Linked DNA regions of Homo sapiens: region 1 is linked to region 2. Evidence: promoter capture Hi-C in 16 types of primary human blood cells and fetal thymus (Javierre and others, 2016). All regions are on one chromosome and are shown on one strand. Each heading gives the region's core, a stretch centred on a gene start or on the middle of the fragment in contact. The rest is flanking DNA. Distances are from core to core; before and after follow the strand shown. Region 1 overlaps SCD5 (stearoyl-CoA desaturase 5). Region 2 holds the start of TMEM150C (transmembrane protein 150C).

Region 1 (6,450 bases), core at 1,428-3,927, 120 kb before region 2:
CTTTTCTTTTAACTACTTTTACCTTCATCTTTCTAGGTCAATACTACAATAGCCTTTTTTTTGTTAATTAGTTTTTAATACAACACTAGTAGAATTCTTTCTAATAATTTCAGAGTATAGGATCAAGCATAAAAGTATTTCTCCTCATTCCTACCTCCCAATTTCATTCCCATGAGGTAACACTAAGGCTTTTTCTCTTACTATTTCTTTCATGTATATATAAGCTTTTATTGTATATGTATACACACACAAGTACTATTTAATTAATTTATCACAAAATATTTAATCAAATCCTGTTATGGGGAAATGCAGGGTCTTTCCAAGTTTTTATTGCAGTTAGCATCCTTGTGGTTAAATCTCTGAACACAACCATGATTTCCTTAAGATAAACTCCAGAAAGTGAATTGTTAGATGAAAATATATGCACAATTTTAGGGTTTTTGATATGTAGTGCTCATTTGCCCTTCACACACTTTCTGCCCATTTCACATTCTCACCAGTAGGCAGCATTGAATTCTTAATTCTTCAAACTTTTAAATTTGAAGTATAATGCACACATTGAAAAGCGTACAAGTGGCTGGGTGCAGTGGCTCATGCCTGTAATGCCAGCACTTTGGGAGACTGAAGCAGGAGGATCCCTTGAGCCCAGAAGTTTAAGACCAGCCTGGGTAACATAGTGAGACCCCATCCCTACAAATAATAAAAAAATTAGCTGGGCATAGTGGCATGTGCCTGTGGTCCCAGCTACTGGGGAGGCTGAGATGGGAGAATCGCTTGAGCCCAGGTAGTTGAGGCTGTAGTGAGCCATAATCACACCACTGCACTCCAGCCTGGGTGACAGAGAGAGACCCTGTCTCAAAAAAAAAAAAAGTGCATAAGCCATGAGTTAGACTTGCACTGCTCAGTGTGGTAGTCACTAGCTACGTGTGGCTACTGAGCACTTGAAATGCGGCAAGCCCCTGGAGGTGTGCTACAAGTGAAAAATCTCTAAGACTTGGTACGGAAAAAAAATAATGTACAGCATCTCAATAATTTTTATACTGATTATACATTGAAATGATAATATTTGGGTATGTTACACTAAGTAAAATATATTATTAAAATTAATTTTACTTGTTTCTTTTCACTTTTTTTGTTTTTAGTTTTTTTTTTTGTTTGTTTTGTTTTTTGAGACAGAGTCTTGCTCTGTCACCCAGGCTGGAGTGCAGTGGTGTGATCTCGCTCACTGCAATGTCTGCCTTCCAGGTTCAGGTGATTCTCATGCCTCAGTCTCCCGAGTAGCTGGTATTACAGCCGCGTACCACCATGCCCGGCTAATTTTTGTATTTTTAGTCGAGATGGGGTTTCACTATGTTGGCCAGGCTGGTCTCGAACTCCCGTCCTCAGGTGGTTCGCCCACCTCGGCCTCTCAAAGTGCTGGGATTACAGGCATGAGCCACCGTGCCCAGCCTCTTTTCACCTTTTATTTTATTAATTTTTTCTGTAGCCCAAGTTCAATCAAGGGTCATTTCACTTTTTAGATGTGGCTACTAAGAAAATATTAGTTATATTATGTGGCTTGAGTTATATTTCTATTGCAAAGTAGGACTATAGTATGGCGTCTCTGCTAATGAAGCCTACCACCTGAGCTCTACACTCCGGATTTGTTCTGTTCCTACTCCTCTCTCGCTCGCCCACCTACCTGTGCCTCATTTATGCCCAGCGTTCTTAGAACTAATGTAGCTCCCTTCAGTATTCCAATTTTTTATCAGGAATAATCAATTAACATGTGGTGAGAGTGCACTTTTAATGGATTGCAGAGTAAGACTGTGATCTACTGGAACCTACAATTCAGTATAAACTCTAAGTTGCAAATTTAATACAATAATTTGGTAATTGATTTGTTTGAATGTTTAAGTATCTAAGCTTCAGGAATTACTGCTGAGTTCAACATCATGTCCCTACCAGAATATGTACATGGAACATGAACAGACAGATTACCCATACTTGACAGTCAGTTCATGATGGGCATTTGTCATCTCTGTATGCCTTAATATTGTTTTTGTTTCCCGTGCAGCAAAGGTGATGGAGTGGCACACATAGTTTTAGACAAGAGCTATCAGCACCATGCAAACACTAAGAGGAAGAGAGATTATCAGGATACCGCTGGGGGTATGGCTTCCAGTACAGTTGATCTCCATTCACTCCCCGCCTCCCAAGGTTGAGATGGTTGGGCCATCTCTCCCTCCTCATTAATCCTCAGCTTTCCCCTCTTCTTGTTGCTAAAGCACATACTGACTGTACCAAAATGAGCTCTAGGTACCCAAACCTTTTCAACACAAATGCTATTCACAGGTAGGTTCTTTCCCCTACCCACCCACTCCCAATCACTCCAGAGCAGACAAAAGTGCAGGTAAGTAGGGAAGAAAGGTGATTGATTGGGTGAACATATAAATCTTGCTCCCTTTCTGCTCTATTGTTGATGCACATCTTGTTCTTTAATTTCTTTTTTTAATTTATTTATTACCAAGTTCCCAAGAACTACAAAACACATCTTATTCTTTGAGTCATTTTTCACTGGACTCAGCTTTACACTTGAAAACAAAACAATAACAAAGGATTAAAAAATACATCTTAAAGTATTTTTGGCTTCATTATGTGCTTGATTATTTGGAATGTGCTTCATTCCACTGTTATACTTGCTTCATTCCACTATTGCAGTCAGGTAGCTTCTGTTGGAAAGGTATCCAGGTGAAAGGAATGAAAATAAATATCTCTGTTTGAACTTTTCTTCATCATGATGGGTCTTTTCATTGTTGTTGTATTATAATTAATTTTGTGAGAATAATGTTTCTAGCTATTTGAAACTCTTCACTTAGAGTTTCTACAAGATTGCATGACATTGAATTAAACAGCCATGTATTAGTTCATTATCACATTGCCATAAATAACTACCTGAGACTGGGTAATCTATAAAGAAAAGAGGTTTAATTGACTCACAGTTCTGCGTGGCTGGGGAGGGCTCAGGAAACTTCCAATCACGGTGGAAGGTGAAGGAGAAGCAAGCTATGTCTTACTATGGTAGAGCAAGAGAGAGAGCAAAGGGGAAACTGCCACACACTTTTAAACCATCAGATCTCGTGAGAACTCACTCAATATCATGAGAACAGCATGGAGGAAACTGACCCTATGATCCAATCACCTCCCACCAGGTCCTTCCCTCAACACATGGGGATTACAGTTACAGATGAGATTTGGGTGGGGACACAGTGCCAAACCATATCAAGCCAATATAACCTTTTAACAAGATGAAAGAAAGTTTTCCATAAAAGATCCCTCCCTGCAACATTTGGAGAGTAAGGGAAATATTTTGTTGATGGAAATGTGAACTGAGAACCAAGGAAATGCCATCTTAGTTCTATTATGTTTTGATTTGTTGGATGAACTTATATAAATGTCCTCTAAGCTTTAATTTTGCCATCTGTGAATGGGGGACAGAGTGTTCTTTCTATGTCGTGTTCACATGGGCACTACAATAAAAGCAATAAACTAATGCAAAAGGAAGAAATTATTTCTTAGACCACAGCAGTCTTGATTGACATTTGAAATTATTTTACACCTCCAAATTCTGTGATTCTAAATAATAAAATGTTTTCACTCTGTCCAACCACCATGTTTAAATACACTGTAAAATCTAAAGACCTCTTTCATATTACAGTAAGCCAGGCTATAATTTTTGATATACATAAACCGCCATGCTCCTGTTTTCTCTCTTTATATTCAAAGCTGAACATATGCTTGTCGGAACTTTCTGCCTCCTTTTTCTCTCCCCCAAAACCCAAGGATTAGGTGGATTTTTAAAATTTTCGACCAGCCTGGCCAACGTGGTGAAATCCCATCTCCACTAAAAATAGAAAAATTAGCTGGATTTGTTGGCGCACATTTATAATCCCACCTATTCGGGAGGCTGAGACAGGAGAATTGCATGAACCCAGGAGGCGGAGGTTTCAGGGACCGAAGATCACACCACTGTACTCCAGCCTGGGCGACAGAGCAAGAGTCCGTCTCAAAAAGAAAAACAAAAAATTAGCTGGGCATGGTGGCATACACCTGTAGTCCCAGCTACTTGGGAGACTGAGGTGGGAGGATCACTTGAGCCCAGACGGTCAAGGCTACAGAGAGCTATGTGATTGCACCACTGTACTCTAGCCTGGGCAATAGAGCAAGACTGTCTCAAAAAACAAACAAAAACAAAACAATTTCTTCCCTTCTCATCAGAAGGATGAAGCCAATCTCTATGAAATGGTAGACTCCTAATGAGAACATTACCCAGTATTGAATATTATGGTATAAAATATTATTACTATTGTCATAATCAGAAAAGGCTAATGTAATATAATACTTAAATTTATTTTTATTTTCAGATTTTCCTATCAAAAGCACTGCTTCCCAATTTAATTCATCTTCTCAAAGTTTTGAAAGCATCATCAGATTTAAAAAAAAATTAGTGTAAAAAAACGTCTGTAGATCTCACTGACTCATTGCTATAGCTAAGGTCTCATTAATTGTAACAGTGAATGCCATCAATTCTTGGCCCCTGATAGCTCAGCCCCTGACACCCTCCCGTGTCTCCCATTATGAGAAGTCCAATAGGGTGTGCTCCCCACATGCACTGAGCCCTACTTCAGCTCTGTGGGCTGGGCAGACTCTGCTGGACTCTGCTGCCTGTCCTTCTAGGGGCACCAGAGTCTGTCTCAGGGCTCCAGTGAGTGCTGCCCTGTTCCTCAGCCACTGCTGCCTCTCCACTTGGTGGATTGCCAATACACCAGGTTCCCAAGGAGCCAAAGTTGTCCCCCTTCTGTTTCTGTTACACTCTGTTAGAGCAGTCCTAAAATGATGCCACTGGTGCCTTGGTATTTTGCAGAGATTTGGGGAAGTAGCCATTTGGGTTTTTTTAAACTACTGGCTTCCTGATCTCTGTGAGTCACACATGAAGAACACCAAAGTGAGGAGAGAGGCAGAGACATCTGGGCCAAGAACCGGCACCATTCCTACTCAGGACTGCCCCTCTCTTATGACAACCAAGATTTCATCCTAAGAACATCTCTCCCTCATTTTTTTTAACTTTTAAGTTCAGAGGTACATGTGCAGGTTAGTTACGTAGGTAAACGTGTCATGGGGGTGTGTGTACAGATTATTTCATCACCCAGGTATTACACCTAGTACCCATTGGATATTTTTCCTGATCTTCTCCCTCCTCCCACCCTCCACCCTTGATAGCCCCAGGATGTTTTGTTCCCCTATGTGTCCATGTGTTCTCATCATTTAGCTCCCACTTGTGAGGACAGTGGTATTCGGATTACTGTTCCTGCATTAGTTTGCTAAGGATAATGACCCCCAGCTCCATCCATGTCCCTGCAAAGATCTGGACAGAACAACCATTCAACCCAACAATGCCATTACTGGGTATATGCCTGAAGGAATATAAATCATTCTATTATAAAAACACAGGCACATGTATGTTCACTGCAGCACTATTCACAATAGCAACATGGAATCATCCTAAGTGTCCATCAGTGATAGACTGGATAAAGAAAATGTGGTATGTTTACACCATGGAATACGGTGCAGCCACAAAAAAGATCTCTTTTTTCTTGACATAAATGATCTAGGAGACTTCAGTCGCCCCCACCAGAGCTTTCCTTCAGGTCTCTGCACTAATTCACCCAACAAGCCTGAACTTCCTGCAGTGGGTACGTCCCACACGTAAGCTGAGATCCCTGCTAAGTGAAGATTTACTCTTGTTCTGATGAAAACCACTCCAGACCACAGGGGATTGAACTTGAGGTTGAGGGACTGTGGGTTGAAGACAGGAGGAAAGTGAAACCAGCAGTGAGGACTGGTGGGGGAGGGGAGGCTGGGAAGCTTCCCAGGAGGATGCTCGGCGGTGCGGTTCCTCTCTTCACTCAGGCTCTCATTCTCTCTGCAGAATGACATCTTCGAGTGGTCCAGGGACCACCGAGCCCACCACAAGTACTCAGAGACGGATGCTGACCCCCACAATGCCCGCCGGGGCTTCTTCTTCTCCCATATTGGGTGGCTGTTTGTTCGCAAGCATCGAGATGTTATTGAGAAGGGGAGAAAGCTTGACGTCACTGACCTGCTTGCTGATCCTGTGGTCCGGATCCAGAGAAAGTAAGTGAATGGGCATGACGGAGAGCTGTCCCTCAGGGGCCAGGACATAGAAACAGCACAATGAGGTGGACTCATAACCCCATAGCGTTCTTCTCAAGCATTTGCCCTAACAATTTTGCCATATTTATAAGATTTATCTCTATTTATTAATTTCCTTTTGCTCATTAAATTTTGCCCATTGGCACATTTGTTTTGAGTTATAAGTTTCATTTGTAATGGATTTCCTTTAAGCCCAGTGTCATTATCTTCAAACTAATCTTGCATGGCTGATTTCAT
Region 2 (5,951 bases), core at 965-3,464:
GCTTTTTGGGTTTATTTGGAGGGACATTTTGGAGATGAAGGCGGCGGTGATTTAGTGGTGCTGAGGAATGGCACTGAGCCTGCGATCCTCACAAACTCAAGTTGGTTTTTTTTAGGAAACATAGGCCTGGCTCTAAATGAAAATGAAAATGTTGAAATAAATTAAACCTGGTGCATGGATTCTCAATCCTTCCACAAAAAAATGGGGGAGGGGAAAGTAAGGGCATTTTACAAATTGGGAGCCCTATTCCCAAGAAAGGGAGTGATATGGCATGGCCATGTCGGAATCACCTGCGGTTCTTTGTCAAAATACCTGTGTTCTGGTTTCCCCCGCCACCTCCAATCAGGTTTTGACTCTGGGTCTGAGGTGAACCCAGGCATCATTTTCTAAAGCCCCCACTGGTGATTCTGATGTGAAAACAGAGTACCACTTCTGTGTTTGAGGGACAGCTAATTCTTTGGCTGGATCTACTTCTGAAAGAATGAATTGGAAGATCTAGCTAGAGGACTCTTTCCGTTATTGCAGAGAGAAATGAATGGCATGGGGACAGGGAGTAGAGAGAGGAGGGGTTCATGGATGGGCCTCAAGCAATCTTACCTTTGGGGGAGTCAGACCACTTTGAGGGTCTGATTAATGTGTAGTTACTCTCCTCAGAAAAGTACACATAAGCTAATTCCCACAAAATTGAGCATATACTTTCAAGGGAGTCTAGACTAAGATTCAGTTTTTGCTTTTGCTATTTTAATTGAATGGATAACAGTCCCACTCATTAAAATAAGGAAAACAAGAGAAGGCAAGATCCCTGGTCTCAGGAAGCTTACAGTCTAGTAGCCAGGAGAAAACAGTAACAAGAAATCAACATACAGAAAAAAAAAAAGAATCAATATACACATAGTAGACAATAATCACAAGAATTGTGGGGAAGGGAGAGTTCTGGAACCGAACGTTAATTGCAGAATTTGAATATGCTGAATTGGAGAAGATTCTTAGAAACACCTGGTTGGGCCGGGCGCGGTGGTTCACGCCTGTAATCCCAGCAGTTTGGGAGGCTGAGGCAGGCGGATCACTTGAGGCCAGGAGTTTTGAGACCAGCCTGGCCAACGTGGTGAAACCCCGCCTCTACTGAAAATACAAAAATTAATCGGGCATGGTGGCGGGCGCCTGTAATCCCAGCTACTCAGGAGGCTGAGGCGAGAGAATCGCTTGAACCCGAGAGGCAGAGGTTACAGTGAGCCGACATTGCGGCACTGCACTCCAGCCTGAGCGACAGAGCAAGACTCCGTCTCAAAAAAAAAAAAAAAAAGAAAGAAAAGAAAAGAAAAGAAAAAGAAAAAGAAAAAGAAAAAGAAAAAAAGGGAATGCCTGCTTGTGTAGAGACAGCAGTTTAAAGGAGACAGGTGTGCTACGGAAGCCCCCAAAAGAATAGAGGGCAGACTGACAAAGGCCGGTTGATAGAGAGCCACCTGTTGGAGGCCAGAGAGGTTGTGTTTGGAACCCAGGCTCATGATGAGCCTAAGATAAAAATGGCATTGATCCATGCTGCTGCTAGAGGTCACTGACATGGTGCCATGGGGTCCCATGGTAGGTTGGGGGTCCGGGATGGGGGAAGCTGTCAAAACGCTGATGAACACAGTTTATGACGGACTCAGACGAGACCCAGGGAGGAAAGCTGCAAGCTGGCGCTGGGAGGTCGGCCTTGGTGTCTGCTGTTCATTGCCAGGGTCCGAAGTTGGCTCTGTGTTTGTTCAATAGGATGGAAAAAAAAAAACCAAAAACCGCGGGACAGCGCTGAGTGGAGGAGAACTACATTCAGTCAATGGGCATGAAAATGAATTTTAGCTGCTTTGTGCAAAAACCCTAGGTGTGCGGACGAAAGAGAGCCAGGCAGAAGGTTACAACAGGTCAGGAATAAATAACCACCAGGCGGAGGATCCAAGATTCTGTCCTTCCTTTTGTTGGATGAGGAGCGCCAGGCAAACGCGTCCACAAAGGCTTCGGAAGGAAGCGGCTCGCCCGCCCACACCCGGCTCCTGCCCCGGGTGACTATTAGGGGCCCCGGGGGGGTGGCAGAAGCCCGAGACCCAGGGGATCAACTCTCCCCGAAGGCCTAGCAGCGGGGACCCCAGAATAAGTCGGGGGCGGGCCCCGGCGCGGCAGGAGGGGGCCGGGCGGGCGGGTGAGCAGATCCCACCCCTTCCTGAAGGAAGCGCCCTACCCGCCGCTACTGCTGCCGCCGCCGCCACCGCAGCAGGTCACAGCCCCTCGAGGCGACAGCGGCCCCGCCGCACCAGAGCAGGTAGGCGCGGCGCCCCCTCCCCTGCCTGGGCCCGTCGCGCAGCCAGGGGGCGTCCGGCCCGGCCCCGTGCGCAGCCCGCAGGCGGAGACCGGGGACGGCGGGGGCTGCAGCGCGGCTGGGGCGGCTGGGTCCGCCCGGCTGCGGGGCCCTGCTCGGCTGCGGCCCCCTCCCATAGCGTCCCGGGCGCGGGGCCGCCCGCCCGAGCCCTCCGCGGGCGCACGCTCCCCGGCAAGTCCAGGAGTCGGTGCCGGCTCTGCCCCGCGACCTGCGAACGCCCGAGCCGGCGCGCCTCGGTCCCCGCCGCCGCAGTGCCGCCAGCCAGCCCGCCCGCTGCGGCCCCGGCCCCGGCCCCGGCCCCGTCCTTTGACAGGTGTCCCCACCCGCCGCCCCATCATCTCGTTATCGGGTGGACTCGGGTGAGAAGCGACCCCAAGTTTGACCTCCCGGTCCCTGTGCCATTCTCCCTGCACTTTGCGGTTAGCCAGGTCAGGCTGGCTCGGGAAGCAGGGGATCTGGGAAGGAGGCACTAACTTGCTTTGCCCTGTGTACCGCCCTCCACTCTAAATGCACAGTCTTCCTTCCTTTCCTGGGCGCACACTTGGGAAGAAATGGGATTTTTGGTTTTTCGGCGGGAGGCCGTGGTAGGTGGGTTACCTAGGCTCTTTGGTAATCTGCTGCAATAAAAAAGTGATTAGCTTTGGGTTCTGGAGAGAGTCCTTGAGTGGTTTTCCCCTCCTTAAATGAATCAAATGGAGTATGAGAGGGTTTTCCCATTTTAAATTCATGCTCCTTTTTTCTCTACTCATTCCTTTCCTCCACCCCTACCCCCACAGCACTTTATGATGTCCCACACATTTCACTGATCTTTTTGGTCAGGTTTATTCCGGCCAGACCGCCTTTCACGGTTGGGCCAGGATTGTGACCGCATGTGGGAACATAGCTCAGGTAGAATGGAAGTCCATCTTCCCGAGTGAACCCACTCCGATGTCCTACATGCGAGGTCCTGTTGGGGAACCAGATATACCAATGCCATGTTGAAAAACAAAACCAAACAGTTATTGGATCTAAAACAATAACAAAGCCTAAATGGCAGGATCAGTTTCTGCATCTTTCTCTGCTTGAACCAAAGACATTTTAATAGTGCAGGGCTATAACTCCATTCTGGGCAGCAGTTCATCGAAAGGATAGTTGAGTGTGGATTTATAAACTCCATGGTAGCAGTCATTAAACTGACCTACTTAAAGTTTCCTATTTCAAGGAAAAATTGTTAGGCCCATATATGTGACCGATCAAAGAATTTTAGTCTCAGCTCTCATGTATCAAATCCCAAACTTTTTCTTGTATGTGTTCTAGAGACTCCATGTTTCCAGGATTAACTATAGCTGTCATCTATTAATGAGCTAGAAATGTGAGTTTAATCTTCAAGGCATAAGCGTAGGAATTTTAATGGTGTGTCCTTTATACATTATTTAATAAATGTTTTGCAAGTCCCCCAAGTTGGAAGCTCACAAACTGGACATGGTAAATAAAAGGGTAAAGAAGTTTTGCTAACAATAATGACTAGTTGATAGATGTTATGACATTCACAAATATATTAAAGTATTTGAAAAACACTTTAATGCATGTTTATTATAATCTGCCATTAGCTGAATGCAATCTGTTTGGATTATTTAAATTGGCATTTAAGTCTTCAGAGCAATTGCTTAATTCATGCATTTCTTACAAATACCTTTTCCATGTTGCTTTGTGGGGGGATAATTTGCTCTATGGAGTAATTTTTTTTTTTGCGTGAACACAATAATGCGTTCTATTTAGCCTTTGTTGTAGAACTACCACAATCATGTTCACAATGACCTTGCAGGGGTTTTTGGGCTCACTTTATCTGCTTTGCAATTGTCAAGAGAGAAGGCCCTTTGCTTTACACTCTTGTCTGTCTTCCTGCTTTGTCTCGCCTGTGACCCACACCTCTTTAGTACAGTGGGTCAGATTAGCAGGGCAGCCTGGAGTCATGAGAGAGGAAAAGCTAGCTGGACCCCGCAATCTCAGCCATTTGGTTTCACTGCAATCTGGCCATTTGGGATCAGTTCAGTAACCAATTAAGCAAGACAAGCACTGACAAGATAATGTATTACTTCTCAGTCATCCCCTTTCACAGAAGAATCTGTAACACTTAGAATCAGCACTACGGTGTGATTAGGTTCTGGTAAGGGTCCAATGAGATGTGTGCTGAAGTTCCCAAAACATTATAGGGTCCAAGTGTTATTGAATCCAGGTCTAAGTTCATGAAAAGCGTAGGACTAGACACAGGTGTGTAATAAGTGTGTCCCTACTTTTTTTGTTTGTTTGTTTTTGAGGCGGAGTCTCACTCTCTCGCCCAGGCTGGAGTGCAGTGGCACAATCTCAGCTCACTGCAACCTCCGCCTCTTGGGTTCAAGCGATTCTCCTGCCTCAGTCTCCCAAGTAGCTGGGATTACAGGCGTCCACCAGCATGCCTGGCTAATTTTTTTTTTTTTTTGTATTTTTAGTAGAGACGGGGTTTTACCATGTTGATCAGGCTGGTCTTGAATTCTTGACCTCAATTGAGCCACCCGCCTCGGCCTCCCAAAGTGCTGGGAATACAGCCAGGAGCCACTGTGCCCAGCCCCTGTCACATGGGTCCGTGTGAAGAGAGTCCACCAACAGGCTTTGTGTGAGCAACAAGGCTGTTTATTTCACCTGGGTGCATGTGGGCTGAGTCCGAAAAAGGAGTCAGCAAAGGGTGGTGGGATTATCATTAGTTTTTGTAGGTTTTGGGATAGGCGGTGGAGTTAGGAGCAATGTTTTGCAGGCAGGGGGTGGATCTCACAAAGTACATTCTCAAGGGTGGGGAGAATTAACAAAGAACATTTTTAGGGGTGGGGAAATTACAAAGAACCTTCTTAAGGGTGGGGGAGATTACAAAGTACATTGATCAGTTAGGGTGGGGAAGAAACAAATCACAATGATGGAATGTCATCAGTTAAGGCTATTTTCACTTTTGTGGATCTTCAGTTGCTTCAGGCCATCTGGATGTATACGTGCAGGTCACAGGGGATATGATGGCTTAGCTTGGGCTCAGAAGCCTGACAGCCCCTACTTATTTTAACTATAAATTTTTACTCCTGGAGCTGATGGTGCCATGTAGCTTTATATTTTTTCATAGTTGTTCTAAGTATTTTAAAACTTGTTCATAAATTATTGGAACTTTAAGTTATTGTTATCACCAAATATCATTTCCTGGTATGTTTAGATTTTTTTTTTTTTCTGGTATGTTTAGATTTTGAAAGACAACTTGTGGCAATGGAAAATCAATCATCATGCAAAGAGATTTTAGATCAGCCATTTAGAATATTTTGAGATAATCGTGAAATCTTTGGCAGTAGCCTTCAAATTCAGCCCCAAACTATTCTGAGTCAAACCAGCTTTGGTAGGTAGGGCTTGAAGCTCTTTTACTAAGTGAGAAATTAATATTTTCCTTTTTGGCATCTATAAACAGCCTTTTCTAGATCAGTGCTGTCCAAAAGAACTTTCTGCATTGATGGACATGTTCTGTAATCTGTCCAGTATGATAACCATGAGCCACATGTGGCTATTGAACGCTTGAAATGTGGGCTAGTGTAATTGAGGAACTGAATTT

What was found. Contacts are between HindIII fragments. The CHiCAGO score rates a contact against its expected background, and 5 or more counts as called.
Region 1: a contact is called between a fragment that was not itself captured here and the fragment with the promoter of TMEM150C in region 2, in 1 of 17 cell types (M2 macrophages). The highest score is 5.3, in M2 macrophages.

Annotation. Positions count from the first base shown.
Region 1 is chr4:82,680,431-82,686,880 of GRCh38, reverse strand. SCD5 (stearoyl-CoA desaturase 5) reads left to right here. Exons shown (of 5, transcript NM_001037582.3): 3 at 5,969-6,174. Among named protein-coding and RNA genes, the nearest start is that of LINC00575, 62 kb to the right of the region's middle. The HindIII fragment of the contact is 1,540 bases long and covers 1,908-3,447 here.
Region 2 is chr4:82,558,251-82,564,201 of GRCh38, reverse strand. It overlaps TMEM150C (transmembrane protein 150C), which reads left to right and starts at 2,214. Exons shown (of 8, transcript NM_001080506.3): 1 at 2,214-2,296. RefSeq lists an enhancer at 1,989-2,488. The HindIII fragment of the contact is 8,598 bases long and covers 819-5,951 here.